Linked DNA regions of Homo sapiens: regions 2 and 3 are each linked to region 1. Evidence: promoter capture Hi-C in human tissues and cell types (Jung and others, 2019). All regions are on one chromosome and are shown on one strand. The core of a region is centred on a gene start or on the middle of the fragment in contact, and the rest is flanking DNA. Distances in the headings are between cores, read along the strand shown.

Region 1 (2,766 bases), core at 184-2,683:
AAAAATGTACTTGTACTGGTGAAAGGGACATTACTCGTAAAAAAGGGCTCTAAATTCACAGCTGATGGAAGAGCAGTTATGTTTCTGTAATCAAAACACTGAAGACTTACAAACTGGTAACTTCCAGATAAACAGTGGAACCAGACATTTTTCCGAAGAAATTAATCAAATTCAATATTGTTTACACTCCCTAATGCTCATTAATGATGTAGCTTCATACACCCTTGTTACTTTTGATATTACAGTGAATTTCCACGGAAGTATTTTCAGAGATCTTAGCCCTCTGAAATAAGTATCAGTTCTTGCAACAACCCAGGAAAATTAACTTCTCCAGCTGGTTCAAAGGAGTGCCTGAGGAGAAAGGTAGAAACTAGAAGATGGAGTTTTGACTTAATAACTAATTTTGATGTTCATGATAGGCCTCTGGCAAACGTTTGAGGAAATGAATCTATAGAGAATGGACGGGCTTTAGGACTTCTACAAGACCTTCGATCTTTAGAAAGGGATGAAGGATGCAACCATCTACAAAAAGTTCTATTTGTATTATTCAGCAATATGTAAAGAGCTGGAATTTGGCATCGCCCTCTAGCCTGATGGCCGAGCTGCTGAAAGCTCCACAGGATTCATATCCCCAGAACAAACAACTCGATCACCTGATCCTGGCTCAGAAGCCCCAGGTCCCTTCCATCCCCAATCCTTTTGCGTGGCCCAGTTTTAAAAACCTGCGGAGAGAAGGACGGGATGCCAGGAAGCCTGTTGATTCAACGTGCCACCCGATTCACGGGTTCCGGGTGTCACTGGGCTGGGAAAAGCTTTCGGACTCTGAGCAACTACAGCGCTTTCCTCCCCCTTCCCCCCATAGAGCAGGGAAGGCCAGGCTCCCCCTTCTTCCCGCATACGGCTCCCCACTGCCTCTTCCCTTACGTGACCAGGCCCTAGGAGCCCGGTTCCCCACCTGACTCCTGCGAGAAACACGCTCTCCAGTCGGAACTTTACCTGTCTGAAGCCCGCCGCTCCTCCAGTGCGCTAAGCCCCCACCGAGGAAAATGGAGTCGTCGAACCGAGACTGGGAAAAGATAGTACGGACCCACCGCACGGCCCCTCCGCCGCCACCGCCGCCGCTGCTGCGTCAACGTGCTACGTCATTTCCGGCTCCCTGTCACCGGGAGTGGGCGGGCCATTTCTTGTTCTCTCTCCCGCTCTCGGAAGCTTTCGTCTCGTGGGTGCGAAAGGTAACCGAAGCGGCTCAGGAAGGCAGCTGTCACTGAGCCCCTGGAACAGAGCGAGAGTATCGTAAGTAACCAGGCTCAGCCGGTTTCTCAGGCCGCTCTAGTCAAATAAACCATAAAGATCAGACTCGGGCTTCTTCACTTCCTTCTCTCCGTGGTTTCGCCATTAGCTTCCGGTTCCGGGGAGGGGCCGAGTTTTCTTCGAAGATTTGGGGCTCCGCGATACAGTTAGGATGGCTGTAGTACCTCTGCTGTTGTTGGGGGGTTTGTGGAGCGCTGTGGGAGCGTCCAGCCTGGGTGTCGTTACTTGCGGCTCCGTGGTGAAGCTACTCAATACGCGCCACAACGTCCGACTGCACTCACACGACGTGCGCTATGGGTCAGGTAATGCTGGGGACCGGGCTCGGGTGGGCTAGGGAGGACTCGGAGGCTCTGGAGGGGCGGGGCCTATAGAATATCTGACAGTGTGGTCTGGGAAAGTTAGGGGTTCCCTGGGAAGGTTCCTCAGGTCTAGAGAGTCGGAGAACTGAATTGTTCTAAGGCATCTTAATCGCAACACCACCTAATATTTGGTGAGCTACAGGCCAGGCACGTTACCTATGTCCTTTTTCCGATTATTAACATTGTTGTAAGGTGGACAGTATTGTTATCCTCATTTCACAGATGAGGAAACAGACGCAGAGAAATTAAATCGTTTATTCAAAGCCTTGCAGTTAGCAAATGACAAAGTCGGGGTTCTATCCAAATCTATCCAGGTTCAAAGCCTGCTTTAGAGACAAGAAAATTACAGTAAGTGCTGTGTCTGAAATTTTAAAGTTACAGTAAGTACTGTCTGTGAAACTTTAAACTCCAAGAGCTCACTCGTTGACTACAACCCTTTGTCTTCCAGCTCTTCTGCATCTTACACTTGCTCCTCAGTTTCCATCTTTGGCCCCCTTCTACCCAAACCTTAACCTCCTTCTTGTAAGAAACTTGGAGCAGTGACAGGAATTGCAGAGAAAACTGCTTTTTTTTTTTTTTTTTTTTAGCGTTTGAAATTAAAATGTTTAGTAATAAATTATTTGTGGATTCATTCAGCATAGGTCTTAATGAGTTCCTACTACATGGCTAGAATTGTACTACATACAGGAGATTCGGTGGTGATAATCAGTCAAGAAAATTACAATATAATAAAAACAGACTAAAAAAAGAAAGTCTTATCTGCCTGAAAAAAAAAGATAAAGTTAAAAAAAAAGAATGAAGGTCAGCTAGTGAGATGTGAGAGGCATCTAAGATAGCTGGTAGATTTTTGTCTTGAATGACTGATGATGCTGTTTGCTGAGGGAGGAAAGAGTTCTGTCAGGTGGGCTAGTCTGGTTCATGATTCCCAAAACCCATCTGATCAGTCAGACTAGGCAAGGACATGAGTTATCATCACTGCGATGTCTTAATAATTCTAGCACCCATTCAGTGAACACCTACCATGTTGTCAGGCTTATTTTTTACTTTGTTTTGGTTTCCTACTTTGGATCTACTGAATTAGAGTGGAGGTGGACAG
Region 2 (2,766 bases), core at 174-2,673, 300 kb before region 1:
TTCTTTTTAGTGGGTATGGGCTTAGGCTTTTGAATCTTTTTTTTTTTTTTTTTTTGAGATGGAGTCTCCCTCTGTCACCCAGGCTGGAGTGCAGTGGCACGATGTCCGCTCACTGCAACCTCCACCTCCCGGGTTCAAGCGATTCTTCTGCCTCACCCTCCAGAGTAGCTGGGGTTACAGGTGCATGCCACCATACCCAGCTAATTTTTTTGTATTTTTAGTAGAGATGGGGTTTCACCATGTTGGCCAGTCTGATCTCGAACTCTTGACCTCAGGTGATCCACCTGCCTCGGCCTCCCAAAGTGCTGGGATTACAGACTTGAGCCACCATACCCAGCCATGAATCTTATTTCATTCTATAAATTCTTCCTGGGTGCCAGGCACAACCAGAGTTGAATAACACAGATGCTTTCTCAGCCCTCGAGGATCTAGCGGGGAGGCTGGCAAGCAGCTCAGTGCAGAGGATGCTACAATAGGAGTAAAGGCAGAGTGGTGGAGGAGCCCAAGGGATGGAGAGCTACTCCAAGATGAGAGAGGAGGCAAGCAAGGCTTCCCAAGGAGACAGCATGGAAGGATTTCAGAAATATTAGTTTGGGAAAGTGGGGTGGGTTCCTGGAACTGCATATGCAGAGATGTGCAGGCATGAAATAGCACAAGATAGTGAGCACACAGTGAAGTGTGCCTGAAGCAGAGGGTATGCGGGGAGAGGGGACTGAAGCTGAGTCTAGAGAGAGGTGGATTCATAAAGGGCTTGAACACCATTTTCAGCTTTAACTCTATCCTGAGGGTAATGGGGAGCCACTAAGCAATTTTCAGCAAAGGATGGGGCATGATCAGATTTGAAGGGCAGTTCCATTCTGAGACCAAGCTGAGGCAGGTCTGTCCTTTCTGCAGAGAAGAAACTTGCCCCAGCCCCCCAGGAGCTTTACTAGGTTACAATATTCTGCTGCCTTGAGCATTTGGAGACAAAGGTCCTGTGTATTGGTCATGGCAGCCTGGTCTCTGAGAGTTGGGTAGGTCAGAGCTATGTGTCCAGGAGAGGAAAGCACTGCCTGGAACCAGCCATACTCCTCTTGCCTGAGGACCCCTCTCTGGCCTCACATAACCGCCAGGAGTTTGTGGCCAAGTAACCCAGCAATCCTCACAGATAGCCATAGGCAAACTGTTCAGTCTCTCCTTAGAAAGAGAGGACAGCCCCAAGCCAGTAGGGTCAGCACTAGAAAGGTCAGTCAGCCCAGGAACGGCAGTGGTAGTGAGGCCGGGGCGGATGGCATGCACATCAGGTGTTTGCCGCCCGGATCTAGTGCTAACCCCTTTTTACATTCATTCACTCATTTTATTCAACCAACGCTGAACACCAACTCTGTGCCTGGCCTGGAAAGACCTGGTTCCTGCTCCAGGGGGTCCTAGTTAAGGGACATACCCAAACAACTGATTTTAGGAAAGTGGCATGAGGTAGAAGTAGCAGATGTATCCAAGAAGGTTGAAGCCCACAGTAAGGGCTTTAGTAAAGTCTACCTAGGGAGAGTCGGCCTTCTAGAGAAGTCAGCAGAGAGGGAAAGTGACTTACCTGGGCACACAACCAGGCAGTGATACATCTACCCACAGTCAAGAGAGTTACCCTGGTCAGTCCCAGGGGTGTGAAAGGTTAGGCGGCAGGATTCTGGAGCTCAGGCTGCCTGGAGATGCAGGTTCACAGGGCTAAAAGGTTGACCTTCAGGACGATGAGGGCCAAGATGGCAGGGAGGCAAGGTCCCCGCTGCTCCAAGCAGAGGATATAGGGCTGGGATAGGGAGGAAGGCATGTTAGGCTGCCTGGGTTCAGGCAGGGGCCTAGCCTACGTCCTGTCCTGGTCTTAACAGCTGCTTGCGGCGGAGTGATCCGCAATGCCACCACCGGCCGCATCGTCTCTCCAGGCTTCCCGGGCAACTACAGCAACAACCTCACCTGTCACTGGCTGCTTGAGGCTCCTGAGGGCCAGCGGCTACACCTGCACTTTGAGAAGGTTTCCCTGGCAGAGGATGATGACAGGTGAGGGGCTGTCCTAGTGGAATGGGAGTGCCTGGCCTGGTAATACCCTGCTGGAGGGACGCTACCCAAGCCTGGGGCCACACCCCATCTGGGTCAGCCACCAGCCTACATAGCTGCCACTCTCCTGGTTCAGGCTCATCATTCGCAATGGGGACAACGTGGAGGCCCCACCAGTGTATGATTCCTATGAGGTGGAATACCTGCCCATTGAGGGCCTGCTCAGCTCTGGCAAACACTTCTTTGTTGAGCTCAGTACTGACAGCAGCGGGGCAGCTGCAGGCATGGCCCTGCGCTATGAGGGTGAGCCTGCTGGGGCCTCACTGGGGGTGGCGGGTCCACGGGGATGGGCTCGGGCCTAGGGTCTTTCTCCCACACCCTACCCCTCTCTGCCTCCATGCTGTCACTCCTTCCAAGTCAGCCCCTGCTCACTCAGTACTTAGGCCCCCTTTCCCTGCCCCTCTCTTTGGGTCCGGGATCCCTACCACAGCTTTGCAGGAAACCTCTGCCTGGACCCAGGCCCTATGGTCCAAGGGAATAAATTCTCCAGATTTTGAAAAGCAAAAAAGGCCTCAACCCTTAAGAAAGAATTGCTGTAAGAGACATTCTAGAACCATTTATGCATGCATGCATTGATTAATTCATTCAAAAAACATGTATGGAGTACCTTCTGTGTACTAAGCACAAAACCAGGCAGTGGGAACAGGATGGTAATCAAGATGGCCTCCTGAGCATAAT
Region 3 (2,766 bases), core at 118-2,617, 280 kb before region 1:
TTGATTTAAGCACACTTTAATATCTATGCCTATATTAGCTCTGTAATGTCAGTAAATTAAGAGTTTCTTCCGTGAGCTCCAGTTAGGATGGTACATCCCAGTGAAGAGAACCTTACGATGTGATTTGGTATGTTGTTGTTTCAACTTTTCTGCATGTCCTTTCCTAGCAAAGAAGTCTAAAGCTGTATTGTTGCCTTAGAGGAAGTACAAAAAATCCACCATCTGCCTTTAGATAGGATGCTCACCTGTCACCCACTAGCCACAACAGAAAATGTCTGTGTTTGAGCACTTCTCATACTTGGAGGACCCTAGTTTAAGAAAGAAGATGTTGGCTGAGGGCAGTGGCTCACACCTGTAATCCCAGCACTTTGGGGAGCCGAGGCAGGTGGATCACTTGAGGTCAGGAGTTCGAGACCAGCCTGACCAACATGGTGAAACCCCATCTCTACTAAAAATACAAAATTAGCTGGGCGTGGTGATGCACGCTACTTGGGAGTCCCAAGTACTTGGGAGGCTGAGGCAGGAGAATCGCTTGAACCCGGGAGGTGGAGGTTGCAGTGATCACGCCATTGCACTCTAGCCTGGGCACCAAGAGTGAAACTCCATCTCAAAAAAAAAAGATTTTAATTGTCTCAGTTTTATTGGTTGTGGTGGAAATAACTTCAGGTCAATTAAAATGTGCTGTCTTTTGAGCCCAGTTAACAAGAACAAAAAGTTGTTTGTATATTACAGCAAACTCACCTGTGTATTTGTATCTTTATATAAGCCCAGATAACAGTAAATAAAGAGAGCGCAGAGAATATTTACTGGACAGTTTTATATGGCTCATAAAAAGAAACCATCTGCTTTGATCCTCCCAAGAGGATTTTTGCTACCTAAAAATGCAGCTGTCCTGCTTCTTGAACAGAAATGGGTACATCTTTTCTCCCACAAGAAGAGTAATAGAAAATAGATTAATACTCTGGGCTTTTGATAATGGGTAAGCATACTGAAATCCATCTCTCAACTTTCTTGTCCCAACCCCAACACAGGGACAATTCCTTGGGTATGCAGTTAAGTAGGCCACCCTGATAAAAGATTCCGTTTGGGTTTATGGTAGCCCTTATATATTAATGCAGCACAAGCTCCTGGAAATGCATTCAAGTTTTAAGGTCCAGCGTTTTAAGTCACCAGAACAGGAAAAAAAAAAAAAAAAAAGTCTGTTTTCCCCCCTCCACTGGGCTCCTCCTTTGACTTAGAGGCCCCAGGGAGTACAACATGGCCAGCTGCATTGCCATTCAATGAGTGACACTTAGAAGAGAACCTCTGCATAATGCGTGCCTCCCAAGAGAATACAGGACAGGAGCACGGCTGTACCCCTGCCAGTTTCCTGAAAGAGGAGGACATTGTATTCAGTGCAAGTCCTAGACCAAATTTCAGAAAGCCACTTTGGTATTGCAGATTTGTCACCATGCCCAGGACGCATGCACAGGTCACTAGCTGACTGCTTTTCCCAGGACTTGAGAGCAGTTAAGAAGAATGAGAATGTGACTCCTTTTTCTGCCTGCCATTTCCAGATATCAAAATCCTTATCCTTTAAGCCTAAGGTTATTCCTAAACCTAAGTCTCAGCAAATAAGAACAAAGATGAGGTTTTAGCACATTTTGTGTGAGGCAAAAGCTGAGGCATACAATAGACACTAATAAAAGGAGGAATCCATGAGTTGACCCATCAGCAGGAAGGAACTTGACTACTACATAGAGCTGTTGTGGAATTCACAATAAGTAAATTACATGTGCACCTTGCAGATTGATGCAATTTTCAAAGTAATGAAAAACTTGACTTGCTCACTCAGAGAGTGAGTCCCTTTTGCTCTGCTGCCTACTTTCCCTTTTGCTACAATCGTACTACATAAATGCTCACTAAACTACTTAAAAGCCGGAGGCTGACCCATTTCCTCTTCTCACTGCCGTGTAATTCCTAGTGGTATTACAGATGAGAGACATGCAAAGGTAAACAGTAGTTGGGGAACAAAAATGATATCTGGGTTATTCCAAGTGGATGATACCTTTGTTAACACAGACACAAGGTGAAAATTTCTTTTCCCCTAATTACATTTGCTTTCTTTTAAGTTAGTGACTTTGGTGTTTAATTTTTGCCTCTCCCCTGTTTTCTGACAAATTTTATGGGATATCTCCCAAGAAATGTTTCTCAGCCTTGACAGGACAAAAGACATACAGAGTAACAGCAGGGCAGGGAGCAACTCCGTGCCTGAATGTAGCGTCAGTCTTTCCTACTGATCTGGGCTCTCTGCGTGAGGCTCGTTTTGAAATAAGCTTGAGTGAGCAAAAGAGGACTCTCTGCAGGGTTTGAATTTAACGGTAGCCCAAAGACATCACTTTACCTCCAAGCCAGGCAGGGATAGGGGAACCTCTCAGAATTACTAGCAAGCTTGAGTTCCAGGTGGACCCCTGTTTGTGGCAGCACAAGCATCTTTTTTACTCAGCTATGGTCCTCAGAGGGATGTTGAATATTATTTTTCTCCTGTCTGCATTTGTGCAGAGAACAGAGCAGAGAAACTAATGAAATGCACAGAGCTTCAAGTGAATTTAAAGAAGCCTCTGCATTATGAAATAAGGCAATGATGACCTACTCTTGCTTTTCTTTCCACTACCCCTAGGCTCCTGTGATCAGCTGAGTGCTCGTTAATTCCCACGTTCACTAAACCATCATAGTTCTGCTGATTCTCAGCTTTAGAGGGAAACTCTACAGTGAACTTTTTCAATT

What was found. Contacts are between HindIII fragments. The study calls those that stand out against the background at their distance.
Region 2: a contact is called between a fragment that was not itself captured here and the fragment with the promoter of SDF2 in region 1, in 1 of the 25 tissues and cell types used here (liver).
Region 3: a contact is called between a fragment that was not itself captured here and the fragment with the promoter of SDF2 in region 1, in 2 of the 25 tissues and cell types used here (hippocampus and lymphoblastoid cells).

Annotation. Positions count from the first base shown.
Region 1 is chr17:28,660,573-28,663,338 of GRCh38, reverse strand. SDF2 (stromal cell derived factor 2) reads left to right here and starts at 1,433. Exons shown (of 3, transcript NM_006923.4): 1 at 1,433-1,613. The coding sequence starts at 1,463. SUPT6H (SPT6 homolog, histone chaperone and transcription elongation factor) reads right to left here and starts at 1,134. Exons shown (of 37, transcript NM_003170.5): 1 at 997-1,134. RefSeq lists enhancers at 344-1,018, 1,116-1,185, 547-1,746. The HindIII fragment of the contact is 8,142 bases long and covers 1-2,766 here.
Region 2 is chr17:28,960,070-28,962,835 of GRCh38, reverse strand. SEZ6 (seizure related 6 homolog) reads left to right here. Exons shown (of 17, transcript NM_178860.5): 6 at 1,863-2,031; 7 at 2,165-2,331. The region is part of intron 1 of LOC105371716 (a long non-coding RNA gene); the gene reads right to left. Among named protein-coding and RNA genes, the nearest start is that of PHF12, 9.9 kb to the right of the region's middle. The HindIII fragment of the contact is 4,967 bases long and covers 1-2,766 here.
Region 3 is chr17:28,939,471-28,942,236 of GRCh38, reverse strand. All of the region lies in intron 2 of PHF12 (PHD finger protein 12), which reads left to right. All of the region lies in intron 1 of LOC101927018 (a long non-coding RNA gene), which reads right to left. Among named protein-coding and RNA genes, the nearest start is that of PHF12, 11 kb to the left of the region's middle. The HindIII fragment of the contact is 9,881 bases long and covers 1-2,766 here.